Linked DNA regions of Homo sapiens: all the other regions are linked to region 1. The links are contacts of gene promoters, found by promoter capture Hi-C in blood cells and fetal thymus (Javierre and others, 2016). All regions are on one chromosome and are shown on one strand. Each heading gives the region's core, a stretch centred on a gene start or on the middle of the fragment in contact. The rest is flanking DNA. Distances are from core to core; before and after follow the strand shown.

What was found. The method cuts DNA at HindIII sites, captures the fragments that hold promoters and counts their contacts. A CHiCAGO score of 5 or more calls a contact.
Region 2: a contact is called between a fragment that was not itself captured here and the fragment with the promoter of RET in region 1, in 2 of 17 cell types (M1 macrophages and M0 macrophages). The highest score is 6.3, in M1 macrophages.
Region 3: a contact is called between a fragment that was not itself captured here and the fragment with the promoter of RET in region 1, in 4 of 17 cell types (M0 macrophages, M1 macrophages, M2 macrophages and 1 more). The highest score is 11.4, in M0 macrophages.

Annotation. Positions count from the first base shown.
Region 1 is chr10:43,075,137-43,078,321 of GRCh38, forward strand. It overlaps RET (ret proto-oncogene), which reads left to right and starts at 1,933. Exons shown (of 20, transcript NM_020975.6): 1 at 1,933-2,195. The coding sequence starts at 2,123. RefSeq lists enhancers at 990-1,256, 1,122-1,979, 2,288-3,185 and promoters at 1,472-2,155, 1,857-2,155. The HindIII fragment of the contact is 20,268 bases long and covers 1-3,185 here.
Region 2 is chr10:42,927,052-42,929,852 of GRCh38, forward strand. No RefSeq gene overlaps it. Among named protein-coding and RNA genes, the nearest start is that of LINC01264, 53 kb to the right of the region's middle. The HindIII fragment of the contact is 2,575 bases long and covers 15-2,589 here.
Region 3 is chr10:42,882,949-42,885,919 of GRCh38, forward strand. No RefSeq gene overlaps it. Among named protein-coding and RNA genes, the nearest start is that of LINC02623, 13 kb to the left of the region's middle. RefSeq lists an enhancer at 2,580-2,971. The HindIII fragment of the contact is 2,238 bases long and covers 277-2,514 here.

The DNA.
Region 1 (3,185 bases), core at 683-3,182:
CTTTGGTCAGATCCCTGGGCGTGCACGTAGCAGGGAGGTATGCATCTGTGTGCGTGTGTGTCCACGTATGGGAACACAGGTGTATGCATGTATGCATGTGTACAGGGTACACCCATGTGAGGGCCCCCCAGACCTTTTTCCAAGGAGTAAATGACACCCTCTCATAGTGTCAGGTGTTCACTCAGGACCCCCAAGGGTGAGGGTGGAGCGAGAGCGTGGAAAGGCCTAAGGTAGGCTAGGCAGGAGCACAGCCCCAGATGGCCCCTTAAGATGGCCACACAGAGCCCAGCCAGACATCAATGTCAGCCAAGGGCTGGCCAGGGTGGTCCCCGGGAGGTGCAGGGGTGGGGCTATTTAAGCCTACCCACTTCTCTCTTCATTCACCTAGGAGGCAATCACAGGAGCTTGTCTGTAGCCAAAAGATGCCCCCAGCCCCTCCCTACCTATCAGGTCCCTTCCCTGGGCACAGGCCTGAGTGTGTAGCCTAGGTAGCCACTGGCACCAGAGATGGAACCTGTCTGAACCCAAGGGAGCCCCTTGTGGCCAACTCTAGCTCCATAAACTGGAAGGGTGTGGCAGGCAGCCGGAGTCCAGTGGCCCACAGTGTCTCTCCTGGGCTGGCAGGCCTGTGCCCCGGCCACCTGCCCCTCAGCAAGCCAGGTCTGGACATCACGGTTGGCTGAGTGCAAGCCAGCCTCTGTCTTGGCAGCTCCCCCTCCTGCCTGTGAGGGTGACTTCACTTTGACTTCATATCTGCAGTGATGTGCAGATCACTTATTCAGCCCTGAGCTCAGCCAGGCAAGAGGGCGGGGTTCTGCACACAGCAAGCAAGGGAGCGGCTGGCTCAAGGGTGCCCTGGGCCCAGGTTCCCTGGCTTTTCCTCCTCAAGGGCCCATGGGCTTCCCTTCTTCCATCCCTCTGCGCCTAAGTGCAGGCCAGACCTCAAAAAGCAGCCGGGGATGGGGCGAGAACAGAGGACTTCCCCACTGAGCCCACATCCAACCTCACCCAGAACCCCTTCTCAGGTCCAGTTGCTGCTCCCTATTAGGGGTAAATGTGTTTATGCGCATCATTTCCATCATTTCTTTGGGGGAAAATTGGATTCTTTCCTCCTCCTCGCTACTCGCTCTCCGACTCTGCCAGCCCATCTCCTGAGAGTTCTCCTGTGTAAGGGATGCAAGGGCCACCAGCACCAGGTCTCTGAAAGGACGCCGGAGCCAGTTTCCGGTTTCCAAGGGTTGGACCAGTGCTGGAGGGGGGAATCACAAACTGCCCTTCCAGGACCCTACCCTCTCTACTACCCCAGGATGCTGAAAAAGGCTATTCTGCCTCTCTTCCCCTGCTCAGCTCTTCCCCGCCTCCTGCCTCCGGCCCCAGCAGAGGCCGCGCTCCCACTGCGCCTCTCGCCTCTGAGAAATGGCGCAGCAAGCGCTCCGCGGAGAGCCTGGAGGCGGGGCGCCCTTCTCTGAGTCCGCGGGGTCGCACCCCGAGCCAGTCGGCCAGACCTGCATCCCGCGTAGCATCCCTGCCCTCTCTGTGCAGCGGAAAGGGCAAAAGGCAGGGACTGCAAGCGGGCGCGCACCGGGTAGGAAGAGCGGCTCTGCGTAGGTGCGCGGACCCGGGCTCCTGGGTTCCATCCCCGCCGCGCACCTCGGGGTCCGCACCCGGCTCCTGCCGGGCCCTTTTCGGCCGCACCCCGCTCCCGCACCCCGCTCCTCCCCAAGCCCCACCCGGCCCAAGCCGCGCGTCCCGCACTGAGCTCCTACACGCGCCGCGCCCCGGCCGCACCCCGCGCAGCCAGAGCAAGCACTGGAGCCCCGCCCCTTCCCGCACCCCACCCGCCTCCGGCCCCGCCTGGCCCACCCCTGGACCGCCCCCGCCCCGCCCCGCCCCTACCCGCTCCTCCGGCGCAGCCGGCGCTTACCTCGCTTCAGTCCCGCGACCGAAGCAGGGCGCGCAGCAGCGCTGAGTGCCCCGGAACGTGCGTCGCGCCCCCAGTGTCCGTCGCGTCCGCCGCGCCCCGGGCGGGGATGGGGCGGCCAGACTGAGCGCCGCACCCGCCATCCAGACCCGCCGGCCCTAGCCGCAGTCCCTCCAGCCGTGGCCCCAGCGCGCACGGGCGATGGCGAAGGCGACGTCCGGTGCCGCGGGGCTGCGTCTGCTGTTGCTGCTGCTGCTGCCGCTGCTAGGCAAAGGTGAGTTCTGCCGGCCGCCGGCTCCCGCAGGGGCCAGGGCGAAGTTGGCGCCGAGCAGCGGAGCGGGCGCGTTCAGAAGCGCCTTTCTGTTTGCCGTGGGCAGCGGGCTGTGCGGTCGCCGGCCACCCGGCCTCGGCTGGGAGCGCAGTGGCTGCGGCGGGCGGCGGGCGAAGGGCAGGACGCCTCGGGCCGGGCGCCTCGGGCCGGGGCTGGGCGGGTCTCGGGCGGGAGCGGAGCGCGGGCCGGGCCGCGGGGGTCGGTGCTCAGAACCCTAGCCATAGCCGCAGGTCTCAATCTGGCCGCGCCCTGCGCCAAAGCCGCGTCCTGGAGCAAACGGGACAGCCGTTTCGGGGCCGACCTGGCGGACGGGTCAGGGAGCCCCGAAAGCCCGCGATTCGTGCGGAGAGTTCTGTTTCGGCAGGAGACGGCTCCGTCCTGGTTTCCTTTTCCCGCTCAGCGTCCGTGCGTTCCTCCCCCAGCTCTGCCGTCCTGGCCAGCCGAGGGATTCGGAGGCTCTTTTGAAAAGATTGCTTTTCCCTCGTGCGTTTTTGCCGCCCTGTCTTTAAACACCTAAAAACCGTGGTTTCTGGGGTGGCTCCCCCCGAGGGGCCGCCGTGATAGGCGTCCCACCCGGCAGCCCTGGAGTCGTGTGGCGCTGCCTGGCAGAGATGCTGAAGATGCGGCCATAGGAGGCCCAGGGCTTGGGGTGGGGCAGGGGTTTGCGCCGCCAGCCAGCGTTGGTGCTGGGCCTGGTGAAACCTCAGGTGCCTTAGGATCCCAGCATTAGGTGTGGCCTTGCAAAGATGGTCATCGACCCCACCCAAACTCTGGCAGAGTGAGCCGCAAGGCTGTGGAATCTTTGACCCCTTGGCACGCGTTTAAGTGTCCCTCAAACTGGCCCTGACTTGATCCCCTCCAAGCGCTTGTGTATGAACCAAGTTTCCCTCTAAGAGGGAAGGAGCCCTGGCCATCCTCCCTCACTCCTTACAA
Region 2 (2,801 bases), core at 52-2,551, 150 kb before region 1:
CCCCTGCCCTTCTAAGCTTCCCCTGAGAGCACTTTCTCAGCAAATCTCTTGCACATAGGCCTGTGTAATAGGTATGCATAGGCACACGTAGCTGTTCTCAGAGAGGAGCTCCTGCTCACTGAAGCAGAGGGTGGTGTCTTTCTTCACATGACAGCACCCCATGGCCACCTCTGAATGTGAGTCTACTTCACTTTCTTATGGCAGCAGAGCTCCCCCTGGAATTGATTAATAGCCCTATTAGTGAGATTGAGCTCATTCATTCATTAGACACATGGTTTATGAAGTGCTACTGTATGCCAAGTACTGCTTTAAGCACTGGGGCTGTCTCCAACTTTTCTCTCTTACAGAAGATCGGAATATTTTTAAAGCATATTCAAGCATTTGTGTAAATGGTTCTGAAGCACAGATTCCTGGAGATGGAATTGTGGGTCAGAGGGAAACTGCATTTGCAGCCAGGATGGGTGTCTCTTGGGGAAGTGTTCCTCCTTCAGCTCCAGCGACAGCTCCTTGCTTTGTGTCTACTTTTCTCCCCCATCTCTGCCTTGGCAACCTCTCCTCCCCAGCCCTTCCCACCTACCCAGGGAACACCTGAAACCCTGGCAGAGCTGCTGCTGAGCCCTCCCCCATGCTGCTGATCTGGGCATTTGCCCTTCCTGCTGCCTCAGGCCCTCAGAAACCAAGGCCTCCCAGCCTGTCTTCTCTCTGGTCCCTGGTTTACGGAAGAGGATGTTGGGATTCAGAGAGGTTAAGTGACCTACTTTTCTAGACCAATTTGTTCAAGTTCCTCCCAAACATCTCCACCAGCCTGTCCCAGAGGCACTTCAAATTCAGCATCCTGGATTATTCTCTTCATGTCTGCCCTAAAACTTGCCTTTTCTGTTCCCTATAATAAATGCCCAAGAGAAAATGTCCCATGACAGCTGACTCTCCCACCCCTCCTTGTCAGGCACAGGTCTCCTGAGCTCTCCTGAGCCTGTCTCCTGGGTCTGCCATTGTGACTGTCCCCTGCAGCCCTGATCTGGATTTGTGGCCACCAGCTCCCTTACTGCTTCCACCAGCTGGACATCCTTGGTCCTCACAGGCCCTGGAGAGTTCATCTTCCAGGGCTGCTGTCAGCATCCCCCCTTGGCTCAAGCAGCCCGCCGGGGACTCAGGAGGGCCGGTGGCACCAGAGGCCAGCGCAGTCCGACTCAGGTCATTCCATGCAGGCGCCTTTCAGGTCCTCAGGACCTGGGGACCAGCACCACACACAGCTGTGGGTCCTCTCGAGCCAATACCATGTCTCAGCCCCTGTAGCCTGCCCCGTGCTGCCCTCCTCTTACCTCGCAGGACCTCCTTTCTTGGCCCCCTGGATAGCTGCCTCTTCCTTTCCAGGACAGCCTGGGACTCTGGGATTTGCCAATATATGTGTGGGGCATCAGAGGAGCTGAGTGCTGCCTGTGAAGGGCATTGACGACGTGTCGGGGAAATGGGAAAGGATGGGAGGGTAGACATCCGGGTTGGTGTCCTAGAGATCCAAGACGCGCAGCTCACCATGCTGCTTGCCTTCAGGTGCCTCATTGGTAAGTCAAAGGCAACAGATAGAGGCTCCCAGAAGGCCCTTCCCAGAGAGCAACTCTTTAGAGATCTAAGCATCTTCGGAGAAAATTTGGGAGCTTGGATGGTTTGTATCAGGCCTCTGTTTTTTCTTGGACTCTTTTGGGTATCTTCATGCCCCTCGAGTGCTTATCAGGATGCCACACGGCACAGCAGGTGGTGAATATATGTGTCATAAGTGAGCGAGAAGCAAGGCTTTTCATCAGGGAAAGTATGACTTCTCTGATGGAGCAATGTCACTCCATTTTACTTACCTGCAGGAATGTTTAACACGAGAGTGACCAGGACACTGCAAGTGGCTGTGTTAGTTGGTAAACCTTTTCAGAGGACAGTTTAGTAATCCATATGGAAAGTTCTAAAATTATGCAATGCCTTTAATTTTACTTACTGAAATTCTAAAGAAATAATTAAGGATGTGTGTAAGATTTAGTGGAAGGTTGATCTTTGCAAGGGCTATTTATAATAAAGTTGAAAACAACCTGTGTCCAATAACAGGAGATTGGTTAACTAAGTTCTGGAACTTAGATACAATGGAATTCTGAGTAGCCACTAAAAATTATGTTATTGAAGTATATTTCGGGTGTGGGAAAAAAGTCGTAATAAGTTACTGAATTGAGTCATGTTATAAAATAGTATGTACTTAATGGAAACATTTTAGAACAAAAATGTATATGCTACACATTTTTAAACATCTGTGAGGGTCTTGCTACTCAAAGTGTGGTCCCCGGACCAGCTGTTTCTGCATCATTGGGAGCTTGTCAGAATCACAGAACTGCAGCCCAGCACAACCTCAGGTGATTCCCATGCAGAGAGGTCCCAACGCTGGGTTGCGGCACCCACACAAACATCACATCTGTGTGTGGGGCTACTAGGAGTCTATTATTTCCCCTTTTTGCTTATTTATTTGTGGCAACTGTATGTTACTGACATAATAAAGAAAAAAGAAAGATGGACACACTCTGAAAAACACACAGTGGGCTTCATTGTCATGGAAGCTTTCCTGGCTCTTTCCTGTCTGGGACGCCCTCACTGAGTTCACTTTAAGTCCCGCTCCTTCTTGGGTGCATTTGACTCTGGTATGGGGGGCTCTTGGCTTGAAGAGTGGCACTTTCAGAATCACTGCTGCTTTCAAAGGGGCTCTGCTCCTGCCAGACAGGGTGGAGACTGAAGGCCCAAGGGCCTTCGGTCCCCCAGACCCCACCCAG
Region 3 (2,971 bases), core at 146-2,645, 190 kb before region 1:
TTCTGGTGAGTCAGCTGCTTGTGGGGTCCCTCAGACCAGATGGAATCAGCTGTTTGATTGGTATGCAGGACCTAGAAGGATATCTCAAGTGGACAACTTAACACTTCACAATGTTCAAGTTGCTATCTATAGAGGATAGTTGTTATCTATCTGAACTTAGGGGAACTGGGGCCTTGTAACGGATTACAAGGTGATTCTGAGGCAGTATGCATGGAATGGTAGTGAGGAAGGGTCAGAGAGCAAGCTGGCCTAGAAGCCAACACTCAGGACACTGCAAGCTTGGTTTATTTTCCTTTCTCTCCCTCCCTTCTTTCCTAATTAATTTTATAAAACGTATAGGGATGGATTCAATAAGATTAAACTCATCTATTCGAAACATGGATTCTCAGGCTGTGTTTTTTTACATTTTTGTTTTGTTTTGTTTTGTTTTTAAAGCAAGCTATCTGCTATGAAGTGTTAACAGAAAGGAAGTGGGTGTGGGAAGCGACCAGTAAGGCAGGGAGAGGTGCATGGGGTGGGGTGGAGGGCAGTACCAGGTAACTTGGAAGGAGGTCATGCACCTGGAAGATGCAGCCACCAGCCTCAGTGAGACAACAGCAAACCTAGCATGTCCCCAGGCATGGTGGGAACTTTGAACATACCTCACTCTAAAATTTGCATCAAACAGAATAAAAATCATGAAAATAAATAGATCTGAAATACAGATTTTAAGTTTGGGCTGCTGGGCAGATACAGAATCCTGTACCCCATGCGCCGGGCATTAACATTTTTTCCAGCACAGATGGAACATTTATAATACTGACCATGAAGGTGGCCACAAAGGAGGCTTCAACAAATAGCAGAGATGATAAGCAGGACATGCTCTCTAATCACAATGCAATAATGTTAGAAGTCAATCACAGGAAGACTGCCTTGAGCCCAGTTACATCTGGAAAACACAATAACTCACGGGCCCGAGGAAAAACGGTAATGGAAAATACAAAAGATATAAACCAAGCAATGATAGAAGCAGCATATATTGACTCTCATGGGATGCAGGTAAAATGGCACTAGAGGGAAATTTATAACCTTAAGTGCTGTGTTAGAGAACAAGATAGAAGGCAAATTAATGAGCTCTGCGTTCAACAGCAGATGTTAGGAAAAGAGGCACAGAACAGGCTCAGGGAAGAGGCCGAAGGCAGAGCCGGGCTGGAGAAGGAGAGCTCAGGGAGGCTAAGAGCAGTGGCCTGGGGAAGGGGCCTGGGGCCGTGGGTCAAGGATGGAGTCCTGTTGGGAGTGTGGGGAGTGGGTCAGGGATGCTGGATTCAGCATTTGAGGATGGGCTGTGCTGTGTGGATGAACCATCAAGATAGACATCAGGCCCCCCAGAATTTGGCAAGACTGGAGGTAGAGCCAAGTGAATCCACGCCAGAGTCCTGGATTACTATGGGCCATGGCAGTGGTGTGGAGAGACCACTCAGACCTAATGAGCCTGCAAGACTGTGGGTTCCGTCTGCTTACAGGGGAGAGCTGGGATTTAAGGGAACAAAAGCCTTGGGGAAAGGGAGCGGGCTGCTCAGGGGAAGTGGATATCAGTGAAAGCCAGGTTTTGTTTAAGGTGAGATGTCCGTGCAAGTTGAGTGGAGGGGTCATGGGGCACCTGTTTCTCTGAGTCCCCAGGGGGCAGGGAGAGGGATGGGTTAGGGCTGGGTGGGGACCAGGGTGGCTGGTGGTGGTGGTTATACCCAAGCACAGCAGGGTTGAGACTGACAAGCTCATCCAGCTTCTGAATCCTGATGGAGGCCCCAGAGCCTGGTGCCCTGGGGACTCTGCGGAGGGTGGTGCAGGAGCACGGCCCTCAGGTGCTGGGAGTGAGGTGAGCAGGGTCACCCCACACCTGGCCTGCCCCTCCTCCCTTGAAACCAGCGGTGTGTCTGAGCACTGGGCCTGAAAGCATGGCATCTGGAGGCCCAAGGCTAATGCCCATGGCCTCCTCTGCCTGCTCTGCTTGTCCAGGGGCTGAGCTGTCCTGGTCTCTCCCTCTGCTCCTTCATGCAGAGGTCTTCAGAGCACCCTAATGTGTCCAATCAAGGCCAGGCTTGTTGGTGAGACACTCTCGGTCCCCAGCTCCATGCTAGATGTCTCCACCCTCAAAGGACCCAGCATCTCATGACTTCATGTCCCACTAGCAGTCCCTGTGCCCAGTTCACCCATCCCCACTGACCACCAATGTTTGATTTTTCCTTCAGAAGCATGTGAGGAAATGGATTGTTGATTAGCCTGATTCAATCATTCTACATTGTAAACATATCAAAGCATCACCTTGTATCCCATAAATGTATACAATTATTATTTGTCAATAAAAAATAAAATTAAAAAAGATTCAGTTCCCAGCTGCCTCCTCCAGGAAGCGTGCAGCACTCTCCCTTGCTGAGGACCAACTTTACACCAGTTCTTACCCTGGACCCTGCAGAGGGCAGAGGGCACTTGGGCTGCCCATCAGGGACACATCCATGCCTCTCTAGCTTTCTAGGAAGCTTCCTGTCTCAGCCCAGGACTTTGGGAAGGTGGAGGTAGTCACCTCCTACAGTCAGGACAGCTGCAGTTCAGAGGGAAGAGGCACAAAGTCCTCAGGTTGAAGTTACCCAGCTGGAATTTCCTTTCTCCCACTGAAAGAGGATGGTGATATTTGGGACTCAGGGTTGATGTCACCATGGGAGGTCTACTGGGACAGATGCTGGGATGTTGAGCTCATGCCTGCAGCTGTACACAGTGGGCAGTGTGGCTGTGGCTCTGGGCACCTCTTTCCTTGGTGCCAGATGTGCTGCCTGGCCCTGTATGTAGGAGGCTGGACCTGCTGGGCCTTGTGGCAGGGCCTCAGGGTCCTTCTGGTCACCTCTTCCTCCCTGCAGGTGCCTCTGCTTTTGAGAAACTCAAAGCCAAGGACAGGTCACTGGATGTGCTGGGGGCACCAGGACTGGTGGGGTAGGGG